2 separate regions of the Homo sapiens genome follow, and region 1 is linked to region 2. Evidence: promoter capture Hi-C in 16 types of primary human blood cells and fetal thymus (Javierre and others, 2016). All regions are on one chromosome and are shown on one strand. The core of a region is centred on a gene start or on the middle of the fragment in contact, and the rest is flanking DNA. Distances in the headings are between cores, read along the strand shown.

Region 1 (4,635 bases), core at 574-3,073, 130 kb after region 2:
TGTCATCTCATTGCACTGAAAATACAAAACCACCTTTTACCCTTGGTTGGAGTGCACATATGGCAATGTAAGTCCTTGAGAGACTATGTCTTTATATTCCCTTTTGAAATAGAAAGGCTTTAGTATCTAATCAAAAGAATGACTGAATTACATAATATGACTCCAAGGTAAAATCAGATCAATGGCCAGATGCAGTGGCTCATGCCTGTAATCCCAGCACTTTGGGAGGCTGAGGCAGGAGAATCGCTTGAGCCTAGGAGTTTGAAACCACCTATGGCAACAGAGCATGACCTCATCTCTACAAAAAATAAAATAATAAAGCCAGCATGGTGGCACACACCTGTAGTGCCAGCTACTCGAGGCTGAGGTGGGAGGATTGCTGGAGCCTGGGAGATGAAGGCTGCAGTGAATGGTGATCAGAGCAAGACCCTATCTCAAAAAAAAAAAAAAAAAGAAAAGAAAAGAAAAGAAATCAGACCAAGAAGGAGATTTTAATTTTGCTTTACTTTGTTTTAGTGTTAAATCACTGCCTGAAGTAATTGAAGAAAATGCTTAAAATTTTTCCAAAGTTATTAGTTGCTTTTCATAGTGAGGTGCTTTTTTAGGAAGTGCTCTTGGTTAGAGTGCTAGAAGACAGTTTGATATACTTCTTGAATATGAGTCAAACTTAGGTGATAATAAGAGTCACCTAGACACTAAAAATACTGATTTTTGTGTTTTTTCCCTGGAAGTTCTGTTTCAGTAGGTCTGAGATAGGCGCTTAGGAATCAATATTTTTAGCAAATGCTTCAGTTGACTCTTCAGGACATGCAGATGTGAGAAACCCTATACTCAATGTTATGCCTTCATGCATATATTATCAGCAGTGTAAAGAACTTAAATGGCTCCTGAAATTTCTCAAGAAAAAAAGAAGTAATCTTTACTTTAGGTTTTTGCTTCATCATGTATGCTGGGAAAACCTTCGGACTTCTTTGAGTGTTCCCCTTTTTTCTACATACTTGCATTACTTTGAAGCCATATGTTATGTCATTCTTTTCTATACTTGAACACTAGTTTGGTAGAATAATAAAATTGTAGAACTTTGAAGATGGAAGAGATTTTAGAGGTTTTTGTCCAAACCCTTAAGAGGACCAAGGAAATTAAATGATTTTCCTAAAGTCATACAGTTAGTGTCTGAAAGAGCCACGTCTCATAGAAGTTTACACTAGTGTCTCAAGGGTCTACTAATAAAGGCATGTGCCCAGAGAGTCTAAGTGTTTCTGGTTTTTTCCTCTCACAGCTTTTCACGTTTTTGCTTGGTGCATACTACCTTCTGCTGGTAGAGCTATTACTCTTGCTGGCAGTAGTACTATGTCACACTAATAGTGTATGATCACAGGCCTGAAGCCAAGCTATCTGACTGTACAATTTGATAGCTTTTAGACCTTGCACAGATTCCTTGACTTGTCTATAAGAAAAACAATAGGATGGTTGTGAACATTAAATGAGGTAATAATATGTAGAGTTCTTAGCACAGTGTCTGACATCCAGTAAATCCTCCATAAATGAGAGCTATTACTTTAAAAGAACTGAGACAAGGTAATTTTCTCCAAGTTATTTTTTTCATATGTATTACACTTGACTTCATTTCCAGTGCTGTCTATGTAGATTATTGGATCAAGGAGAGCCTAGAGATGGTATTTTATTTTCTCTTTTGGCCTCTATTGCTAGTATTTTTTTTTTTTTTTTTTTTTTTTTTGAGACGGAGTCTCGCTCTGTCGCCCAGGCTGGAGTGCAGTGGCGCATCTCCGCTTACTGCAAGCTGCGCCTCCCGGCTTCACGCCATTCTCCTGCGTCAGCCTCCCGCGTAGCTGGGACTACAGGCGCCTGCCACCATGCCCGGCTGATTTTTTGTATTTTTTTAGTAGAAACGGGTTTTCACTATGTTAGCCAGGATGGTCTCGATCTCCTGACCTCATGAGCCACCATGCCCGGCCATTTTTTTTTTTTTTGAGATGGAGTCTCACTCCGTTGCCCAAGCTGGAGTGCAGTGGTGCGATCACCACTTACTACAACCTCCGCCTCCCAGGTTCAAGCAATTCTCATGCCTCAGCCTCCCGAGTAGCTGGGATTACAAGCACCCGCCGCCAAACCCAGCTAATTTTTGTATTTTTAGTAGAGACAGGGTTTCACCATGTTGGCCAGGCTGGACTTGAACTCCTGACCTCAGGTGATTCGCCCACTTAGCTTCCCAAAGTGCTGGGATTACAGGCGTGAACCACTGCACCTGGCCTATTGCTAGTAATTTAAAAAGTATTATAATTGTTCAATTTTCAAGAGGACATAAAAGGAATTATAGTAAGAATAATTCATTTTATAATTTAAATATATATCTTTAATAATTCATTTGTATACATTATATATTTTCTAATTTTCTGATAGTTCTAGACCATTGAAAGCCTCTCAAATGGTGAATTCCTGCATCACCAGCCCTTCTACACCTTCAAAGTGAGTTATATTTCTTATGTACCCAAAATCTGTGTTTAAGGTTTTGGCTTACCCTAATCTCCAAGATTGCCTCCCTGCCTTTTCATTATTGTTTTTCTTTTTGCATGATAATGCTCTTTATTACCTATACTTTTGAAACTTTCCTGAATTTGGTTTAGAATATATTGAAGGATATAACAAATTTTAATCAGTGACACAAGGTTAGCTCATCCTCTCAATATTCTGTCTTAAAACTTTTAAAAACTTATTATTGTTAATATGTAATACTTTCATCCTAAAACTCTAAAAATTAACTGAGGACAAGGGAGTCTAGGGATTTAAGGGATAAAATAACCCCTATTAGTCTAAAGCACTCTTCCTTAAAGATAGGCATGGAATCCCAAAACATTTTTTACCTGTTGTTAGCCAGTCTGGAACTTCTTGTCTTTGACACCGAATAGGAGTTGTTTTGAAAGGGGACAGGAAAACAAGCAAGCATTCTACAAATGCCCTATTTTTTTGTTTAAGACCAAACTTTATCCAAGGAGGGAAGCACATGCCTTTTTTGTTTGCTTTTTAAATATATTTCCTCTAAGATTTTACTAGAGGAGTTCCTGATTAGATCATTTCAATTGATTTAGTTGTCGTTTGACTTTTTAATTAATTTTTCTAAAAATTTGATGGCCCAAAGTACTTTTAGAGAAGAGACATTTTTGTTGTTTAAGGGCTTTTGGGGGGCTTATATAACCATAAAATGACATTTGGGAACTGCTATTTTCTTTTCCTCCTGTTAATTATTTTTCAGTGCAATTAAAACCAGATGACTAACATGACTAGAAATCTGAAATGGTACCGATATGAATACTCTTGCCCGTTCTCAAGATACAAATGAGCAATACCACTTGGCTGCTTAGAAAGTGAGCAAGTGATGCATTTACAGGATGAATATTTTTCATTGCTACAGGCAAGCTGCCTTCTGTAAATATAGTAATCATTAATGGAATGCACTCTATGTACCAAGTCACTGTAGTTTCAAGAAAGAAATGATTTCATTGGGCATCATTGTACCTTGGCATGGTCATCTGTTCTCCAGGGTCTGCTGGTATGAAAATTTGGGAGTTGATCAATAAAGAATGATTAGGCCCTAGAAGACCTGTCATGCCGATCAAACTTAAAAGAGGCTGAGTTATGAACCAGAATACCATTGATTCTTCTACAATGTCCTTTGTCACAAATTTACCCTGGTGCAATGGTAGCCAGGTGTCATCCTCCTTCAGCAAAATATTTATCTGGGTAAACAAATTAATATGTTCAGGTTTGCTTGGTGAGCGTGAAATCTGAATTGAGGAATTAAGATGGCTAATTGGCTATTATACTAAAAACCCTTTTGAGCACATGGGAGGCTTTTCAAGTGTTCAGGTTGGAGTGCAGTGATATCCTGGCTGCTCTGAGCCACACACTATGTTTGGGCTTATCACTGACCACTTGCCTCTTTTCTTTGATCTACATTGCTATGTAATCTTCCTGATTTCCACTCTGGCCTCTTATTTCTTGGTGCCATTAGTCTATATGTTTATTTTCAGTTTTTACATTCAGGTTAATTGTATTTTCTAGTTTTCATTTTATATATATTTTTTGTATTGCATATGAATTTGTGTTAACCTCCATCAAAGAAAGTTCTTGTTCTTTGACCTTTACCACTTTTTTCTTTAGTTTATTTTCGGCTTACCTAGAAGACAACACAGTAACACCTTACTTATCTGGCATCATTAAAGGATTCCACATAAGTGAATTTTTATATAACTGAAGCTTACCTTTTAACGATTTATCTTTTAAAAGATTTTTAACAGTTTGGATGAAAATGTTTCTAAAATATGTTACACTGTTCCTTACATTCTTAAAATAACTAAGGATAATTTAAGTATATCTTAATGACTTAGAATCAGCATTTTAAGTATCAATTATTGCACTGTGTTTCAATATGATATTGCCCTCAGAGGCTCTTAATTATTACAAGATAGTTTGCTTTTACATTAAATGACTTTATAGTTCTTGTTTGCCTTTCTTGTGGTTATTCTTTCTCATTTCTTAGCTCTCATTTCTTGATGAACTTGATACACTATTTTATTCACCATTTCCTGGGAAAGAAAGGGTCCCTCTAAGTACATG
Region 2 (4,538 bases), core at 974-3,473:
GTTTTGTATGGAGATGGGGTCTCCCTGTGTAGCCCTAGTTTTAAACTCCTGGCCTCAAGCAATCCTCCTGCCTGGGCTTCCCAAAGTGCTGGGATTACAGGCGTGAGCCATCATGCCCAGCCCCATCCCCACCTCTCTCTCTCTCTTAATCCTCTGTCTTCCTGTTTGCTCACCTAGGTCAGTCTCTCCTCTTCTCTTCCTTCTCCTCATCCCTTCTCCCCATCACCTCTTCCAGTTGGTTCCCTCTTTTGACTCCACTAATTCGCAATGGCTCTGAGTCTCATCTCCTTTGAGAATTTTGAGACTGTGGTCCAGAAGGGAGGACACTTGGGTTCAGAACTCAGTAGCATGCGTGTCCCTCTGCTCAGCCTCACTTTTCTCTGTATCCTAGGAGATTGACCAAACAAACTGCCCAGACAATGTGAGTTAGAACCTAGGTATTCTAGGTCTTGCTGTTTCCTCTGGTGTCTAATGGTAGAATGGGAAGGATGCCCACAGCTGATGCAGGTGCAATGAGAAGAGAAGGAACAAAGGGTTTGGGAGTGAGGGCACTGGGAAAAACACAGAGGATGACATCTGATAATAAGAAAGGTTGGTCTTAAATATTAACTCATAGACACATATATGGAGATCTTCAATGATATGGTAATTACCTCTCTAATACAGATACGAAAATAGGGACACAAAATGAGATGGGAAGTAGCCCAGAGCTGCAGAGCGCAATTTGGTCCTCAATTTCTAAGAGACTTCATGTCACCTAGAGATGGACTTTGGCAGAGTTACCAATGGCACCAAGGAGATTACAGTGGGATTCAGGGTGTCTCAGGTCTCTCTGAGGGGCAAGAAAGAAGAGAATCATTTTGTCTACTCCCTTGCTTCTGAGAAGGATTATGCCTAACCTGGTTCATATAGAGGACAAATTGGCTCTGGTCACAGGTCACAGAATGTTGGAGCTTGAAGGTTCTTTTTTTTTTTTTTTTTGAGACAGAGTCTCGCTGTCGCCCAGGCTGGAGTGCAGTGGTGCGATCTTGGCTCACTGCAGGCTCCGCCCCCCGGGGTTCACGCTATTCTCCTGCCTCAGCCTCCCGAGTAGCTGGGACTACAGGCACCCGCCACCCACCTCGCCCGGCTAATTTTTTGTATTTTCAGTAGAGACGGGGTTTCACCATGTTAGCCAGGATGGTCTCAATCTCCTGACCTCGTGATCCACCCGCCTCGGCCTCCCAAAGTGCTGGGATTACAGGTGTGAGCCACCGCGCCCGGCCAGTTCTTTTATAACACATCTAATCCAGACATTCCCAGCTACATCAATAGCCTCTGGAATGTCTTGAAATTGAGATCCTTAGCCCTACCCAAAAATCTACCAGATCAGAGTTACCCAGGGTGGGGCTCAATAATATATTTATTTTTAACAAGTACACTTGGTACACAGGCAAGTCTGGGAAACCCTAAACTCTCTCGTATCACAGATCTGGAAGTTGTGGCTCCAGGTCCCGTAGCTAGTTAATGGCACAGGCAGAACTAGAAGTAGGTTTTCTTACCAACGTAGCACTCTGGTGCACTAAGAAACTGCTCTGGCCCATGGAATAGGCAAAGAACAAGTTCTTTAGAGAACTTTCTAAGGGACTTTCATAACTCTCTCTATTACCAGGGATCTCTGATTCCCCATGGTTCTTGGCCAACCCCTATTTTGCAACCCTCAACAAACTGTTAATGAATCTATGCTAAAGCTTAGCTACTCCAATTTTTTCTTCCCTTATTGGGGGTGGAGTTCACCTCAGGAGTGGCTAGGGTTGGCACTTCTGGCCCTGCATAAGCTAAGAGGTACCTCATATAAAGGGCGACTGACACAGCCAGGAGGAAAGCTGTAAGGATAAAGGAGGATAAGCTAGAGAGAACCAGGAGGTGGGAGCCCTGTAGAGCTGTTGGGATGAGGAAAGGAGTCTAGGGTACAATTTAATCAGGGTGGATAAGCATCTAGAGGGCAGAGGTAGGGACTCAGGGAAGACAGAGCTTAGAGCAGAGGGTAGTCAGAGCTTCCAGATCCTTACCGTGGGCAGGAGAGCAGAATAGCAGTCCTGTGTTTCCTGTGTCTGTGAGCTGTGCCTCCCGAGCTCTGCGATGCTGTGGGATCAGGAAGCCCAGCCTGGCTCCTTTTCTCTTTTGCTCCCCTTGCACTGGCTTGTTTCCTCCCCTCTTCTACAGCAGCTGGCTGCTGTGACTGGCAAGTTATAGCCGGAGGGAAGCAGTAAGAAGGGGAGAGGTGTGAGCTCTCTCCAGTCCAGCCCATCCAACTCTTAAAGGCCCAGGACACTGGTCAATGTGAGGGAGTAGTGGGGGTGGGGTGGGGAGAGAAGGATTAAGGGCAGCACATCTCCAGGGAGGAGCCTGGCTGCCCTTCATCTTGATGCCAGCCCTCATTGACCCCAATCCCGCAGTAGCTCTCAAAGTGAAGGGAGTGTCCTCAGTTGCAGTGCTCTGTGAATCACTGCTTTTCATTCTGGTTCCTGCATGTAATACGGCTGTTTTTGCCCTTATTTAATCTGGCTCCTTTCCATAGTGTCTGTTTCCACTGGCCTGCTCCTGTATCTCTGAATCCTGCCTGCAGGGCACTCACTGTAGCTCCGTCCCACAGGAAAAGAAAGAAATAAGATGGGAAAAGAGGAAGACGAGGAGAAGGGGAGGACAGGAATGATGATAGAATGTAGAGGGACAGATAGGTTAGAATCTATGTATATTTTAGGCACTCATTAAATATTGAAAGAATGCATAGATGAACGTGTGAAACAGCTCATTTTTTTTTAAACATCCATTCGTTCCTCCTACAAGCATCTGTTCAGCACCTCTGGGTTATAAGTCATAGCCCTCAGAATGGAGGTAGCACCTTCAGGACATACATGCATGTTTATAAAGATGTGTGCAGAGATGAAGCATAGGCTCAGAGGGGAACTGTGTGAAATGGTGTAATTTTAAGTGTGCTGACGTCTGGCTGCCTATCATGGTTTCCACAAGCATCCCTCAACTGCCTAATATTTTACCATTAGTGATTATAGCTACATTTTTTAGTCCCATTAAAATAAAATCCTCCTAAGTGATTACTATAAAAGTCAGGATAGTGGTTACTGTTGGGAGGGGGAGGAATTGTGGTGAGATGGGACACAGAGGGGGCTTCTGGCATAGCTAGCTAAACTCTATTTCTAGTTCTAAGTGCTAACAAGGGTCTTCACTTAATAATTTATTAAGCTATACATTCTCTTGATATATTTTCTATATGTGTTTTTAAATTTATTTTTTTAGGTCTCATTTAAAATATCATATATCTGTGTTAACTTTTGAAGGCTTAATGATTTTAAATATACATATATGTATATGTATATGTGTGTGTGTGTATATATATATATATATATATTTTTTTTTTTTTTTTTTTTTTTTTTTGAGATAAGAGTCTCGCTGTTGCCCAGGCTGGAGTGCAATGGCGTGATCTTGGCTTACTGCAACCTCTACCTCCCGGGTTCAAGCAATTCTCCTGTCTCAGCCTCCTGAGTAGCTGGGATTACAGGTGCATGCCACCACCCCCAGCTACTTTTTTTTGTATTTTAGTAGAGACGGGGTTTCACCGTGTTGCCCAGGCTGGTCTTGAGCTCCTGAGCTCAGGCAATCCACCTGCCTTGGCCTCCCAAAGTGCTAGGATTACAGGCGTAAGCCACTGCACCCAGCCGATTATAAATAATTTTTTAAAAATTCAATCCTAAGGTCAAAGTAGATTTTAAATAATTTATACCTAGGTTGGGTTGTCTATATTCTTTACTGAGAGCAGGTTTTGATAGAAGAGTAGTAGTATGAAGGAAGGGGACACATTAGGAGGGAGGCCATTCATGGGGAACAGGAAGATTGGGGGGCATCGTAGTTTAAACTGTGCTGATTTCAGATTTGACTTAATAGAGGCCCTGTTTTACATGCTTGTCTTGCTCTCCCATTTCTACTTCCCCAACATGGCCAGCTTATTTTTCCAAGCCTCACCTTCACAGTCCACACTCCTCTTCTATACCCCCAGATTATATACCATCTTTCTGAGTCACTATTTGCATCAATTTAATGCTGCCCAACCTCCTTCCCTCTTGGGTAATCTGTGAGGGGTGTTATCACTCATAGTGGATTTTCTGGGAGAGTCTAGATCTCAAATATTCTGTTTCAATGTTCCCATGAATACAACAGTATTCTTCAGCCCATATGTTCTGATTTTTGGGGCAGGGACTTGGAGACTTTCACAAGGTTAGTATGGTTCCAGAGTGCCAAGGCATGCCCACTGCAGGACTCTCATGAAACAGAGGGAGGGAGCAGACAGACAGGGCCCCCTGGGCACAGTAAATGTCCATCTGGTATGGTTATTCCTATTTCCACCATGATCCTGGCTGCCCCTTCCCCCACTGTTGTCTATTATTAACAGATCCAGAAACCTGATCAGGGCAGTAGCAGCAGAGGGACTTTCTGGGAACCATGCCCAGGAAAAGCCTAGAAGCCCTAAACTGAAATGAAGC

Evidence for each region. Contacts are between HindIII fragments. The CHiCAGO score rates a contact against its expected background, and 5 or more counts as called.
Region 1: a fragment that was not itself captured here is called in contact with the fragment with the promoter of PLCD4 in region 2 in 1 of 17 cell types (M1 macrophages); the score reaches 5.9 in M1 macrophages.

The regions. Positions count from the first base shown.
Region 1 is chr2:218,477,502-218,482,136 of GRCh38, reverse strand. It overlaps USP37 (ubiquitin specific peptidase 37), which reads left to right. Exons shown (of 26, transcript NM_020935.3): 17 at 1-67; 18 at 2,422-2,487. Among named protein-coding and RNA genes, the nearest start is that of VIL1, 61 kb to the right of the region's middle. The HindIII fragment of the contact is 4,909 bases long and covers 1-4,277 here.
Region 2 is chr2:218,605,584-218,610,121 of GRCh38, reverse strand. PLCD4 (phospholipase C delta 4) reads right to left here and starts at 2,223. Exons shown (of 16, transcript NM_032726.4): 1 at 2,052-2,223. The HindIII fragment of the contact is 12,670 bases long and covers 1,733-4,538 here.